Regions from separate parts of the Homo sapiens genome. Here region 2 is linked to region 1. Evidence: promoter capture Hi-C in 16 types of primary human blood cells and fetal thymus (Javierre and others, 2016). All regions are on one chromosome and are shown on one strand. Each heading gives the region's core, a stretch centred on a gene start or on the middle of the fragment in contact. The rest is flanking DNA. Distances are from core to core; before and after follow the strand shown. Region 1 holds the start of RABGGTB (Rab geranylgeranyltransferase subunit beta). Region 2 overlaps SLC44A5 (solute carrier family 44 member 5).

Region 1 (6,168 bases), core at 2,013-4,512:
AACTTTAGATTCAGCTAATACATGCCATTACATCATTGACCTTGTAGGACAGCTTCACTTGTAACAAAACTTTTTGACCAAATCCTGATACAGTTTCAATTTCCAACTCTGAAGTAAGAGAACATACTATCAAGATCGTTGCAATTTTGATTAGTATTTACCTGGACAGCACTAAGAGTGTATAAAAGATGAGGATCATGTCCGATACTAGCACTTATTCCACCACATTCATGTTGGCAAGACTTAATAAATGCCAGAATCTCTTCTCTATTCATGCGATGAAGTTGTCCCATGAGATCCATTACTGTCAGACCCCAATAGATGCCACTCATTCTCAAATACTCAGACATACAGTATTCCTAAAATAATACACAATTTCTTAAATCTGTCATTTGAACTGGTAACAAGTTATAAAGAGATTAAACACAAAGGTAACTCATTAGCCATGCTGCTATTTTTACCTCTCCTGACCTTAACAGCACTGATCAGTAGTGAGTTTAAAATCTGTGCTGCTCAATGTTAGAAGCCATCTTCAGACACAACTATTATCAGAAAAAAACAATTATCTGAGAAGCACAGGATTAGTTAATCTATGGCTGACAATACAAACAGTGCTTTAGTTTCTCCCATGAGCCAGAGACAGAAAAACATCTACCTTTTTCATCAGTGAAGTTCAGGGAGAGTATTTCTTTCCGAGTACCTATACCATATTTATCAGACATCTATTTTAATGTGGACTCTGTACAAAACCTATTATCTATTAGTAAATTATATAACTACATGAAAAATCAAAATGCCCTAAACATGCCAAAGATGTTTAAGCCCAGATAAAACAGTGGCTAATCAATGATACATGAAAATTAGTATTAGGATTCCAGAAACAAATTTTTCCCACACTCAACAATGCATTATATTTTAAGAAGTTTTGTGGCTGGGTGGTGGCTCCTGCCTGTAATCCCAGCACTTTGGAAAGCTGGGGCAGGCAGATCACTTGAGGTCAGGAGTTTGAGACCACTCTGGCCAACATAGCAAAACTCAGTCTCTACGAAAAATACAAAAACTAGCTGGGCATGGTGGAATGTGCCTGTAATCCCAGCTATTCAGGTGGCTCACTTAAACCCAGGAGATGGAGGCTGCAGTGAGCCCAGATCGCACCGCTGTCCTCCAGTCTGGGCAACAAAGTGAGGTTATAGCTCTCAAAAGGAAAAAAAGAAGTTTTTTTAACAGGTGGTGCATCTTAGTTTGCTACTAACCCAAATTCAGGGCATAAAGATAGATAGCAGATAAAGGCAGAAACGAGTCCAGCCCCATCCATATGGCCTTAACTCCATGATTGCTAATAGAGTATTTTCAAGGTTATGGGAACCTAACACTTAAGTAAAAAATTAATACATACCATATATCCCACAAATCGGTAGACTAAGACAACTGAGTTTGGATACTACAGGGAAAAACATTTACTCTTAACTAAGTTGTTTACTACTTTTTGCTAAGATTGTCCCAGAGTTTTCCTCGAAATTTAAAAATTTAAGGTAAAACTTTTTCAAGGTCTCAGAGTAATTCTAGAGCTAAAGTGTTATTACACATCAGCAATAGATTCAGATAATACATGCCAACACATCATTGACCTTGAAAGTATTACCCCTAACTACAAAAAGAGAAACCCGTTTTGTACCTCAAACCCTCATCTACTTTGTCTGGCAAGCCCTCTCAGTATAGGTAAAAACTGAGATTCTAATAAGCCCACAGCCTCAGACGTCCAAAGCACACTTAACTGAAGTTCAAAGGCACAGCACATCCTCAGTTCTCTGCATGGAGTTGGATGCCATTTTAAGACATAAATACTGTCTCACTGCTTATGACTGTCACACTTCTTTAAAATAAACTTTCCAACATAAAAAAATTATACATACATAATCATCTTTCTTTGAGCCATAGGATGCGATATAATCTGCATGTTTCTCCAATAACAAAGTGTCCGGTGCATCTGACTTGATAATAACATCCTTCTGTGGAGTGCCCTTTCAAAATAAAGTGGTAATCTCATCAATGTTTACCTCTACAACGTTCTTCTGCCCCACAGCATAGATTCAACATACATCTCAATTTTCACTTGATTTCATCTTGTAATAGGAAAACGTTCCATTTAAAAATTGTAACTAACTAGGGAGGCTGAGGTAGAAGATCGCTTGAGCCAGGGAAATTAAGGCTGCAGTGAACTGAGGTTGTGTCACTGCACTCCATCCTGGGCGACCGGAGACCGACTCAAAAACAAAACCAAAACAACAACAACAACAACAAATTGTATCCAACAAAAAAGAACTTAAATCATTCAGGCTTCGTCTTAGTCACGATTCAGGTAATTTTCAGGTCTCAGAGTAATTCTAGAGCTAAAGTAGTAATAATCAACTTTAGATTCAGAATACATGCCAACTCATCATTGACCCAAAAAATTACCACCAGCATTTCTTGTTGTTCACTTTTCATTCAAAAAGATAAGTAAAAAATAAACACCATAGAATATCAAAGCTTATCATTTCAGGACAACTTACGGTTTACATGTGGCAGAAAGCATATTTTTAAAAAATAAAAAAATCTAACCCTTAACTTGCAAGCGAATTCTTGCTTAATCAAATGCAGGTTTCAAAGCACCTTCTAAGTACCCCAAAAGTTGTTCAAATGTATTAAATAAGCAGTTCCTTTAGCTCCATCTTCTCCACCTTTAATCCGAGTCTCTGTATTTGCAGAAGTCCCCATGTGATGCGGCTCTAGTTCTTTTCGTATCTATATCTTCCTCATTGAGAGTACACTGCAGTCACTATAACAGGTCATGAAGATTACCGGAAGTGATTAAGTACCGAATTTTCTTCTGATCCCATTAAAAATCTTAAAGCGAGACCACATCACTAACGATTTTAAAGAAATCTTTGACACCCCCTCTCCAAGAAAAAAAAAAGCCACCAATCAGCCACAGCTTTTTAGAGGGGTTCAGAAATCGGGCTGCTCAACTCTTAACAGGCCCTCCCTACAGAAGAAGGCCTGGATAAAATTAGAAGCGGCATTGCCCGCGAGGTCTGCAGAAAACGCTGAGTAATATTTCACACTCAAAAAACCTTCCAAGGCCTGTGTCCTAACCATTCTCCAGCACCAGGAAACCAATCCTAAGGTGACCAGTGTGCTTAACCCTACTCCACCCTGTCTGCTACCAACCCATCCGGACAGCAGCGCTAAACTCACACTTACCATGTCTAACAGGGAAAGGAGAGAGCAGGGTCAGTTCCTGGGTAGACTTAGGAGCCGGGCGCCTGCGCAGATGCGCCTCTCAGGCCCCCATCGCGCTCCGATATAGCTGACCACACTTTCGCCTGCAAGGCAGAGCAGTTCCACGGCTGCCGTAGGACCCCACTGATCGCTCATAGGTGTCCTCACTGCCTGCGTCCAAAGTCCTGCGACCATATGCTTGTCCCATAGTCACTCCGATTTGTCTAGAAACAGTTTTAAATAATATTTAAATATCTGAGTTGCTTTTAAGAAATCATTTGTTCTAGCTGGACGCGGTGGCTTACGCCTGTAATCCCAGCACTTTGGGAAGCCGGACAGCAGGATTGCTTGATCCTAGGAGTGTAACCACCCAATATTGTGGTTCACTTTGCCTGCTGCTGACCGATAGCCCATTTATCAAGACAGGGGACTTGCAATGGAGTCTCCCCAAGCAGTATTCAGAGTTTTTAAAGATAATTCGGCGATTAGGGGCTTGGGAAGTAGGGAGTGCTGATGGGTCAGGTTGGAGATGGACTCATAGTGGGTAGACGTGAGTTTTTCTTGCTGTTTTCTGTTCCTGGGTAGGATGGCAGAACTGGTTGAGCCAAATTACCAATCTGGGTGGTTTCAACTGATCCATGGAGAGCAGGGTCTGCAAAATATCTCAAGAACTTATCTTAGGTTTTACAATAGTGATGTTATCCCCAGGAGCAATTTGGGGAGGTTCAGAAACTTGGAGCCAGAGGCTGCATGACCTCTAAACTGTAATTTCTAATCTTGTAGCTAATCTGTTGGTTCTGCAAAGGCAGACTGGTCCCCAGGCAAAAAAGCGGTCTTTTTGGGAAAGGGATATTATCAATTTTGTTTCAGAGTCAAACCATAAACTGAATTCCTCCCTAAATTGGTTCAGCCTAGGCTCAGGAATGAAGAAGGACAGCTTAAAAGTTAGAAGCGGCCGGTGGCTCACGCCTGTAATCCCAGCACTTTGGGAGGCCAAGGCGGGCGGATCACGAGGTCAGGGGATCGAGACCATCCTGGCTAAAACCCCGTCTCTACTACAAATACAAAAAATTAGCCGGGCGTGGGGGTGGGCGCCTGTAGTCCCATCTACTCCTGAGGTTGAGGCAGGAGAATGGCTTAAACCCGGGAGGCGGAGCTTGCAGTGAGCAGAGATCACGCCACTGCACTCCACCCTGGGCGACAGAGCGAGACTAGTCTCAAAAACAAAAGTTAGAAGCAAGATGGAATCCGTTAGGTCTGATTTCTTTCACTGCCATAATTTCCTCAGTTATAATTTTGCAAAGGCGGTTCCAGGAGATCCAGACCAGCCTGGGCAATGTTGCAAGACCCCCGTCTCTACAAATAATAAAAATATGAGCCAGACGTGGTTGCCCAAGCCTGTGGTTTCAGCTACTGGGGAAGCTGAGGTGAGAGAATTACTTGAGCTGTGGGGCAGGGGGTGGAGGCTACAGTGAGCGGTGATAATGCCACTGCACTGCAGGGTGTGAGACAGAACGAGACCATGTCTCAAAAAAATAAATCATTTGTTCTTGAGGCCCTTTGCACTCTGAAAATCTGAAATGGCTGTTAATTAGTAGAGTGCCTGCTTACACGTAGTAAGTGTTCAATGAATATTTTTTAAATGAATATTAATGAAATGTTCACATTTCCTTCCTGTTTGCCTTATCTATCTCAAGGTCCAGCCCTGTACCCGCCCCCTCTCCTCGCCACACACACAGGCCACCCTCCCCACCACCACCACCGCCACCACAAACACTTCTTCGGAGAGTGCTAATAGTAAAAATATTGGAAGTTACTTTTTTTAAAAAAATTATACTGTAAGTTCTAGGGTACATGTGTACAACGTGTAGGTTTGTTACATGGATATACATGTGCCAGGTTGGATTGCTGCACCCATTAACTCATCATTTAAATTAGGTATTTCTCCTAATGCTATCCTTCCCCCCTCCCCCAACACCATGACAGGCCCCTGTGTGTGATGTTCCCTGCCCTGTGTCCAGGTATTCTCATTCTTCAATTCCCACCTATGAGTGAGAATATGCGGTGTTTGGTTTTCTATCCTTGTGATACTTTGCTCAGAATAATGGTTTCCAGCTTCATCCATGACCCCACAAAGGACATGAACTCATCCTTTTTTATGGTTGCATAGTATTCCATGGTGTATATGTGCCACATTTTCTTAATCCACTCTATCGTTGATGACATTTGAGTTGGATCCAAGTCTTTGCTATTGTGAATAGTGCCCAATAAACATACGTGTGCATGTGTGTTTATAATCTTTGGGTATATACCCCGTAATGGGATCACTGGGTCAAATGCTATTTCTAGTTCTAGATCCTTGAGGAATCACAACACTGTCTTCCACAGTGGTTGAACTACTTTACACTCCCACCAACAATGTAAAAGTGTTCCTATTTCTCCACATCTTATCCAGCTTCTGTTGTTTCCTGACTTTGTTTTTCTTCCTTTTCTTCAACTTCTATTTTATTTTGATTTTTTTTATTATTATTTAAGTTTTACGGTACATGTGCACAACGTGCAGGTTTGTTACATATGTATACATGTGCCATGTTGGTGTGCTGCACCCATTAACTCGTCATTTAGCATTAGGTATATCACCTAATGCTATCCATCCCCCTTCCCCCGACCCCACAACCGTCCCCGGTGTGTGATGTTCCCCTTCGTGTGTCCCTGTGTTCTCATTGTTCAATTCCCACCTATGAGTGAGAACATGGGGTGTTTGGTTTTTTGTCCTTGCGATAGTTTGCTCAGAATGATGGTTTCCAGCTTCATCCATGTCCCTACAAAGGACATGAACTCATCCTTTCTTATGGCTGCATAGTATTCCATGGTGTATATGTGCCACATTTTCTTAATCCAGTCTAT
Region 2 (6,168 bases), core at 1,527-4,026, 440 kb after region 1:
CCAAGTTGATAACCTTCAAGCTCAATTCATGTTCTTGTTTGCTTCCAGACTTTCTTTTTAAATCACTATTGATTCAGAATTTATTTATTCTGAGATGATGTGTGATTATCCAATAATTCATGGCTGTTCTATAGCACAAATTCACTGCTTTGTCACACTAATCAAGAAAAATCAGTTTTTCAAAAGTGCATTTCAAATGCCCCCTAAACGTCCATTCTTCAGCACTGCCTATAAAATCAGTCTGTTAAGAGGCAGCCTGAGTGCTTTATATATTTTTTCTTTTGAGGTGCTTCTTTTAGTTGTTACTTCTAAGGTTATAACTGAATTGTTTATGATTTGTGTTCATATAGAGCAAATTATTTCAAATGATGATGCAAACTACTTAAAAAACATCCTAGTGATTTGGAAAATGTTTCTTAAAACAGGAGATTTGACATTCTTGGTAGAATATAAGGTGATTCATCATCTCTTATTTAGGAAGTTACTCAGACTGGGAGGAAAAACAACCATCATAGGTCATGATACCACTGTATTGTTTGGTTTGAAATCAGTGCTGAAGGAATCTCATTTGCATTTCCATTAATCATGCCATGTCCAATGTGGGGTCATGTTTCTGCCTGAGATGAGTTTTGGGAATGCTCATCATTTTCTGCATGAGGCGTTGTCATCATTAGGTGATGATGTAGGGTACCATGCCCTTTCTTTCACCCCCAACAAATGTATTCCTCTGTAATGCTTCCTGAATTACCTCATCCTCTCTCACAGCTACAGCCTCAGCCAGGCATCTACCATCTTATGTCTGAAATACAACAGCCATTTCCTCATTGATTCATCTGCCTTAACTTTCTTATTTCCTCTGCATCAAATATATAAACACATAACAATTATGTTGCTTATTTAGAAGACTTTGGGGGTGGTGTAAGTCCTTCTCCAACTCCTGGTAATGTGCTTAATTCCTCTAACTGCTGTCATGTCTTGTTCCCTAGGCATAGCTCTTTGTTACAGCTAAGTATGTGCTGTTGTCTAGCTTTCACACATGACACATTCTTTCCTCTAAGTATGGTTAAAATTTCTCTCCTTCTAAAAGTTATTCCATAACCATCACACCCAGCTTAGTCACTGAAATCCTTCTAGAATTATTGGTATTATTTGTAGCCAACGTGTCAATTCAACAAGTTGGTTTGTACTGATTCTACACTGATCGCTTTAGTTATGTGGGTAATTTACATTTTACTGTTTCCCATATTAGTTGGTCCCCTCTGAAGGTAGAAATTGTTTCCCAACTTTTTTTCCCTCCATTATCTATCATTTTATGGATGAAAAAATGGAAGGTTAGAGGGGCAAAAAGTAATTCTCCCAAGATCATACTGCTTATAGATGGTAGAAATAACATTTTATACCAGTTAATTTGATACCCAGTTTTTATTCACCAATATGGGATACTTTCTCCCTTACTTCCTTTGTCAGCTTCTACTTGCCTTGACATTACAATCAGATACTGAATTAGTGTTGGTGATAAGGGGAGTAATTTTTCACATCGGTGCACTTCTAGGAGTCTATTAACTTCCTTTAATCTAAGTTGAAATTTATCTAAAGTGATTTGCTGGTGACTGCCAAGATTGATCCTTTAGTTGTATTTTCATAATCTAAATTAAATATATAAGATATCAAAATTACATTGACATTCTTTTAAAACTTATCTTGTAAATATTTACTGAATGCCTGCTATGTGTACAACAGGCACTAATGTAGGTAACAGGAACAGAGAAATAACCAAGATCTCATTTCTGCCCTAGAGAAACTATGTAGTAATCCAGTAGGATAAATAGCCATGTGTATTAGCTTCCTATTGCTGTGGTAATGAATTACCACACAATTCTAAGTGTGGCTTAGAAAAACACAAATTTATTATCTTACGATTCTAGATGTTAGAAGTCCAAAATACATCTCAATGAGCTAAAATCAAGGGATTAGCAGGATGTCCAGGGGAGATCCATTTTCTTACTTTTTCCAGGTTCTAGAAGCTTCTGTATTCCTTGGCTAATGACTCTCTTACATCTTTAAAGCCAGAAATAGCCAGTTGAGTTTTTCTAACATTGCATCTTTCCAACCTTGTTTCTGTTGTCACATTTCCTTCTTTGACTCATCTGCCTCCCTTTTCCCTATAGAAGTACCCTTGTGATCACATTGGGCTCACCCAGATAAACCAGGCTAATCTCACCATTTCATGGTCCTTAATTTATTCACATCTGCAAAATCCCTTTCCTTATATTAGGTAACATTTACAGGGTCCAGGGATTAGGATGTGAACATCTTTGGGAGGCCATTATTCTGTCTACCACAACATGAAAACAGATAACCTGTATTATAGTGTCCTAAGCTCAACAATGCAAATGGAAGTACTGTGTCTCAGAGATTAATGGAATTAGCTGCTTTGGAATGGAATTCTTTGAAAGTTCTCAGGATTCTTCTCCTGTCAAAGTGGGTGGAATTCACTTTGGCCCACTTTGGCACAGTGGCCAGTAGAATGTCTTTGTTCTTGTCCTTCTTGAGAATCAGTAGGAAGTTTGTGAGGGGAAGTGTAGGCCTCCTTTAGCCATCACCAAGGGAATAAGGAGGAGAAAGTCACATTGCTCAGAGGGAACAGAATATGAATATGAAAAGGGGGGAACCATACATAGTACAGAATTGCATAAGATCAAGTTAAAAGAGGGGCATTATAAGAAATAAGACTGGTGAGATGAGCCATATCGTAAAAAGCCATGTGTGTTGGGCTAAGAAGTGGGAACATCATCCTGTAAGAAATGGCTAAGAACATGATTCCTTATTATTTGGTGGGACTTAGAGGAAAACAGAACCCTTTCTTTGAATGAAATGACAGGCCCTCTTTTATAGACATACTATAAAGCATGTTTTAAAAATAAAACAAAACACGTACTTAAGTATTCACATTTCTCTGCTGGCTATTGTTGTATATTAAAGTCTTAATTTTGTACTGCTCCATTTTTCCATGTTCACTGGAAAGTAATCTGACCTGCTTACTCACAGTAGGTCTCTTTTAAGTTCTAGAACATGTATTCATCCCACCTGAGTTCCTTTTTTGCTCTCTGAATTAATATTAGGTTCTCAGAAGGAGAATATTCCTGCAGGAATAAAATCAAATGTTTTGGATTTTTACTTTTTATAGCTTATCAATGGTAGTTATATTGTCATTTTCTTTGAGAAACAGATTACTTTTAAAGAAAAGAGTCTTTCTAAGCATCACTGGCTGCTTTATCTTGCCATTTGCTTTCAATGGAGCCATGTGAAATCTGCCCCTATGAATTGAATTAGTTACCTGAACTATTTTCCTTAATCTTCATGAATTATTTCTGGTTTGGAAATTGCATTGTATGGCTGCAATACCAACTGTTAACCACCACAACAAATGTGTAGCTGTCTTTTATAAATGTTTTTCAATGATTCTAAATTTACTGTTGCAAGACAATAAACTTGGTGATCAGAAAGTCAAATGACTTAAGAAGCTTATAAAATATTATATAATTTTAGGGTTTTTTGTCTTTAAGTGAGAAATATGAATTGCATTCAAGGAGCTAAGCCACATGACAGCGAACCACTGTGGCTTTTTTCATTTAGCTGGCCCTTCAGTCTATTTATTCCAGAGACGCAATTAGAGTACGTGAGGGCCCCTATAAAAGCACTGCCCTCTATTGATTTGCAGGATATAAAAAATTTGCATGACAATACAAATTCTGACAGCACATGGGGGCAGGGTGAAGTAATCACTTTCCAGCTGTCATTACTATACAGAATCAGCTCAATCTTATCATCTGACTGGTTTTGGTGTATTTTCAACTGAAAAATAAAGCAGCCAGTATTTACAATCAGAAAATGTCAGCTTTTCAGGCAGATTCGACAATGGCATTTCATTTACACTGCAATCCACTTTCTCACTTGGTGAGGTACAAATCACAGGAAGATTGGAAGCCAGCCTAAATACTTTTAAGCTGGTTTTGCCTACCTTTAATGTAAACAGCAAATAATTACAAAATCAATAGAAGTTGTTAACCCCTTTAAACCTGTCTTCTCCTTACTCATCTGTGGGATTACTTTAAAATGACCAGTGAGTAACTTACTGCTAAATGGTTCAACACAGGCTTTGTTTGGAGTTGGACAGTCTGCCTTCCAATGCCACCTCCGCCTCTTGTTAGCTGAGTGAGCTAGGGAAAATTATCTCACCTTTCTGTACCCCAACTTCCTCATTTGTAAAATAGAATAATAATAATGGCATATTTTATTACATTGAAATGGCATGAATTTTTAGAAACATTAAATGACATAATAAATACACTAGGGCTATTGCATTGCAGTGCTCAGAGAAGTACAATTCACATTGCGTTCTATGTGGAATTGTGCAAGATGGCAGACCTACATGTAAAGAACTTACGGTAGTCCCTGGTACAAATAAGAATAAATTTTATAGAGTTTATGATCTTTCCTTTTTCTTGAAATTATTTGACTTTCTTGAATGTCTGTGTCTCTTCCTAAAACTCTTTCACTGGCTCCTCACATCTAATGGTAGTGTCTCCCAAAACTCATACACATCATGATGACCTGCTTTTCTCCTCATTTTCTCCATTAGGTTGGTCTGTTAAGTAGAACTAGACATAATGACAGTGTGTAAACTGGGATGTACTTATTAAATTGAGACTAAAATCAAATAGATTAATGGTTCCCAAATCTGTCTGTGCATCAGAGTCAGTTAGTGGGTCATCTAAAAATACAGATTCTCAGGCCCATTCCTCAGATCTATGGAATTAGAATATTTGATATGGGGGATTGTTGGAATCTTGTACCCCTAAAAGTTTTTGAGCTATTTCAGCTATTCAGACAGATTAGGGAACTGAAATCTAGAACCAGGAATGATGCAAATATTACTGTTCAACATCAGAGTGAAAGATTCAAGTCAAAGAGCACAGGGTCAGAGCATGAGCAGAAAATGAAGCCAGAGCTGAGTGTTAGGAGCCTGTGAAGCCTGTTCATTCGTGACCCGCCCTGTGCCCCACAGCATTCTCTATCACAGCTCTTACCACACAGTGTTGAAATGATGTTTCCAGCTTATGTTTTCTTTCCTTCCTTTTTTCCTTCCTTCCTTCCTTCTTCTCTCTCGTTCCTTCTTTCTTTTTCTTTCTTTTCTCTTCCTTTCCTTCCTTTCTCTTTCTTTTCTTTCTCTCATCTGTCTTGCTCTCTCGCCCAAGCTGGAGTACAGTGCCACAATCTCAGCTCACTGCAACGTCCGCCTCCTGGGTTCAAGGGATTCTCATGCCTCAGCCTTTGGAATAGCTAGGACTACAGGTGTGCACCATCACGCCCAGCTAATCTGAGGTTTTGCCAGGTTACCCAGGCTGCTCTGGAACTCCTGGCCTCAAGCAGTCCACCAGCCTTGGCTTTTCAAAGTGCTAGGATTATAGGTGTGAGCCACCCATGTCCGGCCCTCTCGAGCTTATATTTCTTATTCAAGTATGAGATTCATAAAGGCAGACTTAGTCTGAAAAATTCCTCTTCATATCCTCACACCAGTGTTCATGGCAAGGATCCAAAAAATGTTGTTAAAATAAATAGTTAAAATGTAAGCCAAGAGAGAACGAATTATTAATAGGACTCTTTGGCTCTTTTGTTACATATAACCAATTTGAACTAGTTAAAAGTGAGAAAAGGGAATGCAGTTTAAGACTATAAGGTATCTCATGAAACTCAACGCTGGGCTTCAGGTAGGAACTAGACCACAAGATAAATGCCATTAGGACCATTGTCTCTGTTTCTCTTTGAACATTTACTTCAATAACTTCTTTCTGAAAGCCAGATTTCTCTGCTTCTCTTGTTTGCGAGGTTTATATTTTGCAGTTCCAGTCTTCTACTGAGAATAACTCGTTGTCCATTCTAATTCTAAATTCCTGGGATTGAGAATCTGACTGGCCCAGCTTGGATCCAATATCTGAACCAGATCCAGTTGGCCATGGCCAGAAAACAGGCACAAAGAAGAAATGTCACTACTAAAGACCTACTCCTGTGGATTGGGGGACAGAGGGATGGTCAGTTCTCAGATAAAGTAGACTTAAACACTTTTAATATTATCTGTTGCAGTGAGGCAGATTCAGATAAGCTGTC

Evidence for each region. The method cuts DNA at HindIII sites, captures the fragments that hold promoters and counts their contacts. A CHiCAGO score of 5 or more calls a contact.
Region 2: a fragment that was not itself captured here is called in contact with the fragment with the promoter of RABGGTB in region 1 in 1 of 17 cell types (M2 macrophages); the score reaches 5.1 in M2 macrophages.

What each region holds. Positions count from the first base shown.
Region 1 is chr1:75,783,350-75,789,517 of GRCh38, reverse strand. RABGGTB (Rab geranylgeranyltransferase subunit beta) reads right to left here and starts at 3,262. Exons shown (of 9, transcript NM_004582.4): 1 at 3,244-3,262; 2 at 1,914-2,021; 3 at 162-359. The coding sequence starts at 3,246. It overlaps SNORD45C (small nucleolar RNA, C/D box 45C), which reads right to left and starts at 2,446; the gene lies at 2,369-2,446. It overlaps SNORD45A (small nucleolar RNA, C/D box 45A), which reads right to left and starts at 1,629; the gene lies at 1,546-1,629. SNORD45B (small nucleolar RNA, C/D box 45B) reads right to left here and starts at 41; the gene lies at 1-41. RefSeq lists a silencer at 3,171-3,230 and enhancers at 3,291-3,520, 4,461-4,680. The HindIII fragment of the contact is 7,492 bases long and covers 2,532-6,168 here.
Region 2 is chr1:75,340,544-75,346,711 of GRCh38, reverse strand. All of the region lies in intron 3 of SLC44A5 (solute carrier family 44 member 5), which reads left to right. Among named protein-coding and RNA genes, the nearest start is that of LHX8, 210 kb to the right of the region's middle. The HindIII fragment of the contact is 1,500 bases long and covers 2,027-3,526 here.